2 separate regions of the Homo sapiens genome follow, and region 1 is linked to region 2. Evidence: promoter capture Hi-C in 16 types of primary human blood cells and fetal thymus (Javierre and others, 2016). All regions are on one chromosome and are shown on one strand. The core of a region is centred on a gene start or on the middle of the fragment in contact, and the rest is flanking DNA. Distances in the headings are between cores, read along the strand shown. Region 1 holds the start of BLOC1S1 (biogenesis of lysosomal organelles complex 1 subunit 1). Region 2 holds the start of CNPY2 (canopy FGF signaling regulator 2).

The links. Contacts are between HindIII fragments. The CHiCAGO score rates a contact against its expected background, and 5 or more counts as called.
Region 1: a contact is called between the fragment with the promoter of BLOC1S1 here and the fragment with the promoter of CNPY2 in region 2, in 3 of 17 cell types (naive CD8 T cells, non-activated CD4 T cells and total CD8 T cells). The highest score is 8.1, in naive CD8 T cells.

What each region holds. Positions count from the first base shown.
Region 1 is chr12:55,714,796-55,717,383 of GRCh38, reverse strand. It overlaps BLOC1S1 (biogenesis of lysosomal organelles complex 1 subunit 1), which reads right to left and starts at 1,338. Exons shown (of 4, transcript NM_001487.4): 1 at 1,188-1,338; 2 at 379-451. The coding sequence starts at 1,332. BLOC1S1-RDH5 (BLOC1S1-RDH5 readthrough) reads right to left here and starts at 1,350. Exons shown (of 6, transcript NR_037658.1): 1 at 1,188-1,350; 2 at 379-451. It also overlaps a transcript of ITGA7 not described here. RefSeq lists enhancers at 634-873, 1,154-1,293. The HindIII fragment of the contact is 4,864 bases long and covers 406-2,588 here.
Region 2 is chr12:56,313,644-56,317,476 of GRCh38, reverse strand. It overlaps CNPY2 (canopy FGF signaling regulator 2), which reads left to right and starts at 1,489. Exons shown (of 6, transcript NM_014255.7): 1 at 1,489-1,656; 2 at 2,235-2,347; 3 at 2,511-2,626. The coding sequence starts at 2,260. It overlaps PAN2 (poly(A) specific ribonuclease subunit PAN2), which reads left to right. Exons shown (of 26, transcript NM_014871.6): 26 at 1-541. CNPY2-AS1 (CNPY2 antisense RNA 1) reads right to left here. Exons shown (of 2, transcript XR_002957416.2): 2 at 2,669-2,948. RefSeq lists enhancers at 1,136-1,285, 1,366-1,415, 916-1,504. The HindIII fragment of the contact is 5,570 bases long and covers 388-3,833 here.

The sequences.
Region 1 (2,588 bases), core at 89-2,588, 600 kb after region 2:
AGAGGGTGGGAGGCAGAGGAGAGGGTGGTAAGCTGTAATGAAGGAGGGTGCTCTCCCTCCTGCTGAAGTGACAGCTGGACTTGGAAGGGTGAAGGGAGGTGGGCAGATGGCATCAAGTTGTAAATGCCAGGGAAGTTAACGTGGGGAAGGGGAAATCTGGCTGCTTCTCTAACCACGGCAGCTGTTCCTCCCTTGCCCAGTGCTAGGACTCAGAGTTGACTCAAGTTGCTCTACAAAGAGCTGGGAGGGGCGGGGTAGGATAGGGGAATTAGTGGAACATCCCACCCCTTCAACAGCTATTTGAGGGCCAGACTGGCCAGTGCCTAAACTTGGGCGGGGTGGGGAAGGAGGAAACTGATGTTGATAAGAGGTCCATACCCCACATTGAGGTGATCCACCAAAGCTTCTGTCAGGCAGGTCGCTGCAGTGATAGCCTCTCGCCTCCTCTTTTCTGGGGAGAGGGGGAAAAGGAATTGGAGGGGAGACTTGGTTTTTTGAGGGGTAGTGTTAAAGGTTCCCTACCCATCCATTACTATTCTGCTAGTTGCCGAAATTTCTTAACTAATCTCTGAATGCCGGAGCTGAAAAGGACCTTGCAAAACATAGCGCAACCTCTTTCATTTTAGAGATGAGGAAACTGGTACCCTGGGAGGGAAATGGACTCACTCAGGGACGCCAGGAAGTCAGCGGCAGCGCCCAGGACTCCTGACTCCCAGGCACTCTTTCTCCACTACTCGGCCGCAGAATCGGTAACTCCGAGATTTCCAGCCCGGACTCAGGAAACAAGTGCCCCACCTCCGTTCCGGTGGTTTCAGGCCTCCAAGAAGCCCATCTCTGGGGGGTTCCCCACACCCTCCTCCCTCCAGAGTCGCTCCTTCCCGCCGCCAGGACGAGAGGCTCCCAGGGCCAATAGGCAGGGCGCTCCGGGGCAGGGGCGGGGCTAAGGTGCGGCAGGTCGGGGATTGGGGGCGTTGCCGAGGGGACCGGAGTATTGCCCAAGGGACCGGAGCCAGTTGGCAAGGGAAAGGAGTTTCAAAAAAAGCCTCTCTGAAATTCCCTCTCCCCCATGCCCGTTGCCCGCTAGCTGGCGTCTTTCCCTGGATATGGTTAGTTACTCGAGATCCAGGCTCCGGGCTGAAGCTAGGCCGCGGCCGAAGAGAAAACGGCCGACAGGATATTTGGCTCACCCTGCAGCTCCTTGCGTTCATTCTGCTTGGCCTGGTGTTCTTTTAGGAGGCGGGACAGCATGGTCACGTCGGGCTGGGGGCTGGGTACGCCGGGCCCCCTCCGGCTCCGGAAGCTGGAACGCTCACCTCGGCTCCCCGGGGCCATGTCACGTGACCGCTGTGTCACGTGAGGTTGGGAACCGCCCTCTTGAGACCTTGGGTGAAGATCTTGGCGGGGAAGAGAGGTAGAGGGTTGCGGAGGGCAGGTGAAGTGTTCTTTATTGGGAGCTTAGTTTTTGGTGAGTGTTGGAAGAAGTATTTTCTAATACTTATATTGCCAAGCCAGTTTTTAACATTTCCTGTGGATCTCAGGCTTCGAGGGCTGGTGGTGTCAGGCCGTCTATCACCGTTTAATTGAGGGAGCAGAAGCTCCCTGGCCTCATTTAAATTATTCTCCTTCCCTCTCCTCACCTCCTGGCAGTGCTAGCTGGTTCTCAGTTGATTCCCAGTTCCTTCCCTCAAGGAGAGGATGCTTTCCTGTCTCTCCCAACCCTCTTTCTTCTCACTACCCCACTGAAGTCTCTCAGCTCTGGGTGATCATTGTAGAGAAGCATTTTAGGCACTTCAGACAGCCTCCTAGGGAGCTTGGCTAACTTGGCGGGCTGTGTGAATGTAGAATTTCATCTCTGTCCTTTTGTGGTCAGGAATGCGAACCCATTTCAGTGTTAGCAGAAGCGTAAGTGCTGTGCCAAAGTAAAAAGTAATTTATATAAGGCCTCTGTGAACTAAAAAGAAATGCTTCCGGGATTAACTCCAGCGAGAACAATTATAAACATCATGAGCATATTCTTGCTACTGGTACAATCTCTCTCGGTGCACCTTGCACTAACATGTTGGGTGACTTTGGGCAAGTTGCTCACCATTCTAGGTTATAGTTTTCTCTTTAGTAAAACTAGGAGAAGGGATTGGATTAAATCGGTGGTTCTCAACCCTGGCTAAGCATTAGAATCTAAACATTAGAATCACAGAAATCACAAGGCTTATAAAAATGCCGTGATTAGCCGGGTGCGGTGGCTCACGCCCGTAATCCCAGCACTTTGGGAGGCCGAGGCGGGCGGATCACGAGGTCAGGAGTTCGAGACCAGGCTGACCAACATGGTGAAACCTTGTATCTACTAAAAATACAAAATTTAGCCAGGCGTAGTGGCACAAGCCTGTAATCCCAGCTACTCAGGAGCCTGAGGCAGGAGAATCGCTTGAACCTGGGAGGCAGAGGTTGCAGTGAGCCGAGATCACGCCACTGAACTCCAGCCTGGGCGACAGAGTGGGACTCTGTCTCAAAAAAAAAAAAAAAAAAGCCTTGATTCCAGACTAATTAAATAGAATCTAAGGAGTGAAGACCAAACATCACTATATATATGT
Region 2 (3,833 bases), core at 240-2,739:
TGGTGCTATTAATTGAACTGGAACACAGCAGAATTGTTGCAAAGGTTCTAGGAGCCAGATTCATTCCTTCTTCATTCTTTGCAAAACAGTGGTACAGACATGGAGTCTAGAATTGACCCAGATGGAAAGTAATTGGTATTCTTAATATCCTGGGTGACTAATATCCAGGCAGAGAAGCTCCTGGAACCATAACTGTAAGTTCCTAGCTGGCTAGGGATTGAAGTCCTGGACAGTGACAGAGGATACCACAGTAGTTCAAGACTTAGCACAAGTCACCAACTGCTTCAGGGATACCTGGAGGGGCCAGCAAGTAGAGTGTTGGTGGCCCAAGCAAACCAGTGTTGCCAATACCATTGCCAAAAGGGCCTTTGGATCCTGGACAAAGCTTGGCTGCCGGCTTCATTTATTCCTGCTGATGGCTGAGAAGCATCTGTCTTCCATCCCACTTGCCTGTCCCAAGTTTTGTTCCATTTTTTAAAAATTTGTTGTAAACTGCATGTTTTATAAAATAAAAATAAAATATCGTTTGTTATTTATCTCATTAGAGAACTGCTAGTGTGGGTTCTCTGGCTTCAGTCTTCCTCTCCTTCCTTTGAAGGTAAAGGTCCGGAATCCAAAGTTATGGATATGAAAGGGTATAATTAGGCCGGGCGCGGTGGCTCACTTCTGTAATCCTAGCACTTTGGGAGGCAGAGGTGGGTGGAACACGAGGTCAGGAGTTAAAGACCAGCCTGACCAAGATGGTGAAACCCCGTCTCTACTAAAAATACAAAAATTAGCTGGGAGTGGTGGATGGCGACTGTAACCCTAGCTGAGGCAGAAAATTGCTTCAACCCGGGAGGCGGAGGTTGCAGTGAGCCGAGATCACGCCACTGTATGCCAGCCTGGGCGATAGGGCGAGACTCCGTCTCAAAAAAAGGGGAAAAAGGTATAATTTATGCCTTTTCTGGGCAATGCTGGGTCTTTGCTATAGCTGCCCAGTACCCTAAGTCAGACTGAAGATGTACAGTATGGTTTCCGTTAATTGTGTAAGCCGACAAACTACAGGTCCCAGGATAGCTTGAGACTTGTAGTTGCTCACAAAGATGGGTCCGGTGCTGCGGTGCTTCCTGGGAGATGTAGTTTCCTGTGTATTGAAACCTGGACTGCTCGCTGGCCGGCAGCGCACCGTTTTGAAGGTCCTAGCCCACCTGGGCTGGCTCACGCGCACGACTAGCCGCTCCCATACAGCACGCCCGGACTCTGTCGTCGCTTAAGGCCACTCCTATTCTACGGCTGACCCCTGGTGGTCACGTGGATCTGTTCGCCACGCAAGTCTGGGTCCTTCGGCGATTGACCGGGGTCCTTGCTGTTCGGGAGCCTCTCCTAAGCTGCCTGTTCGCGCGAGAGTTTGGAGGGGCGGGTTTGGGGTCGGTGTCTGATTGGGGCTCGCACCGCAGCACGCTGGAGTCCCGCTTAGGTACCAGTTAGCGTCAGGGGAGCTGGGTCAGGCGGTCGCCGGGACACCCCGTGTGTGGCAGGCGGCGAAGCGCTCTGGAGAATCCCGGACAGCCCTGCTCCCTGCAGCCAGGTGTAGTTTCGGGAGCCACTGGGGCCAAAGTGAGAGTCCAGCGGTCTTCCAGCGCTTGGGCCACGGCGGCGGCCCTGGGAGCAGAGGTGGGACGGATGCGGGCGGCGAGGCGCTGGGCGCTGAGGGTTGGGGATGGACTGAAGCGAAAGCAATGGCGGAGTCCTTAGAAAGGGGGCTGGTGTCCGTACGGGTAATCACTTACGGGCTGGAGGTGGGGACGCAGGAATCTTCGGTGCAGGATCCAAATGGGCCCTAGTTATTGCTCTCCTCGCTGGCCTCCTGGCCTGACTGAGGGCTCCCTGCCGGCAGTTCCCTAGTGCCTGTAGTCCTCACGTAATCGCCAACTTACCTCCTGTAGCTGCCACAAAGCCCCGTGAACCCTAGGCATGCAGTGCTAAAGTACCAACACTTAGGGCCTCACCTATCCACGTAGAGTCTGGGGCTGAGCCGCAAGTCCTGAGCTCGCGCTCCCACCCACCACCCTGGGGGAATCAGAGCCCTCAAGCGCTGGAACAGAGAAGCCCCTTTGTGTCCCGGCCATTTCCTGGAAAGTAGAGCCAGAGTCACAATGAGGCCTTTGAAAGCCTTGGGGTGAGGATTGGGGGGGTCAGGGAAAAATGGAGTCGGCTCCTCACACTTATGTTTTATTCCCACTCAAACCCAGGTGGAGCGACCCCATTACGCTAAAGATGAAAGGCTGGGGTTGGCTGGCCCTGCTTCTGGGGGCCCTGCTGGGAACCGCCTGGGCTCGGAGGAGCCAGGATCTCCACTGTGGAGGTAAAGGCACAACGGGAAAAAGAAGTGGAGGAAGCAGAGCCTTGGGAGGGCATGAGATCCAAGGCCTGGGAGAAGGATGAATGGAAATCCTGGGTTGATCCCATTCTCCTCACACCCTACCCCCTACCCTGTCCCCTGCTCTCATTCTCTCCTCTTCCACCAGCATGCAGGGCTCTGGTGGATGAACTAGAATGGGAAATTGCCCAGGTGGACCCCAAGAAGACCATTCAGATGGGATCTTTCCGGATCAATCCAGATGGCAGCCAGTCAGTGGTGGAGGTAACTGTTACTGTTCCCCCAAACAAAGTAGCTCACTCTGGCTTTGGATGAAATTCGACTGCTTAAAAAGGACCTTGGTTTAATAGAAATGAAGAAAACAGACTCAGAAAAAAGATTTGGCTCTGTCTCATTTGGAAGAAGCTGCAGGCTTATTCCCCATGCACTTGCTTCCTGGCTGCAAACCTTAATACTTTGTTTCTGCTGTAGAATTTGTTAGCAAACAGGGAGTCCTGATCAGCACCCTTCTCCACATCCACATGACTGGTTTTTAATGTAGCACTGTGGTATACATGCAAACATCCGTTCAAAATCTGAGTCGGAGCTAAAAATAAAAAATGAAAAAACAGAAATAAGAATAAAAGGTCTTATCCTCATAATTAGGAAATTTTAATCGAAAACAACACACATGTACACAAAGGTGTATCTAATAAGCAATATATAAGGCAGTGTTAAGATTACAGTGCTAGCCTGGGCATCATGGCAAAACACCAACTCTACAAAAAAATGCAAAAGTTAGCAGTGCATGGTGGCATGTGCCTGTAGTGACAGCTGCTTGGAAGGCTGAGGTGGGAGGATCACTTGAGCCCAGGAGGTCGAGGCTGCAGTAAGCCGTGATTGTGCCACTGCACTCCAGCCTGGGAAACACAGCAAGACCCTGTCTCAAAAAAAAACCAAAACCCAGCACTTTGGGAGGCCAAGGCAGGCGGATCACCTGAGGTTAGAAGTTCGAGACCAGCCTGGCCAACATGGTGAAACTCCGTCTCTACTAAAAATACAAAAAAGTAGCCAGGCGTGGTGGCTCATGCCTATAGTCCCAGCTACTCAGGAGGCTGAGGCAGGAGAATCACTTGAACCCAGGAGGCAGAGGTTGCAGTGAGCCAAGATCGCACCACTGCACTCCAGTCTGGTTGACAAGAACAAAACTCTGTCTTGAAAAAAAAAAAAGGCCGGGCGCGGTGGCTCACGCCCGTAATGCCAGCACTTTGGGAGGCTGAGGTGGGCAGATCACAAGGTCAGGAGATCGAAACCATCCTGGCTAACATGGTGAAACCCCGTCTCTACTAAAAATACAAAAAATTAGCCGGGCGTGGTGGTGGGTGCCTGTAGTCCCAGCTACTCAGGAGGCTGAGACGAAAAGAATGGCGTGAACTCGGGAGGCAGAGCTTGCAGTGAGCTGAGATGGTGCCACTGCACTCTAGCCTGGGCG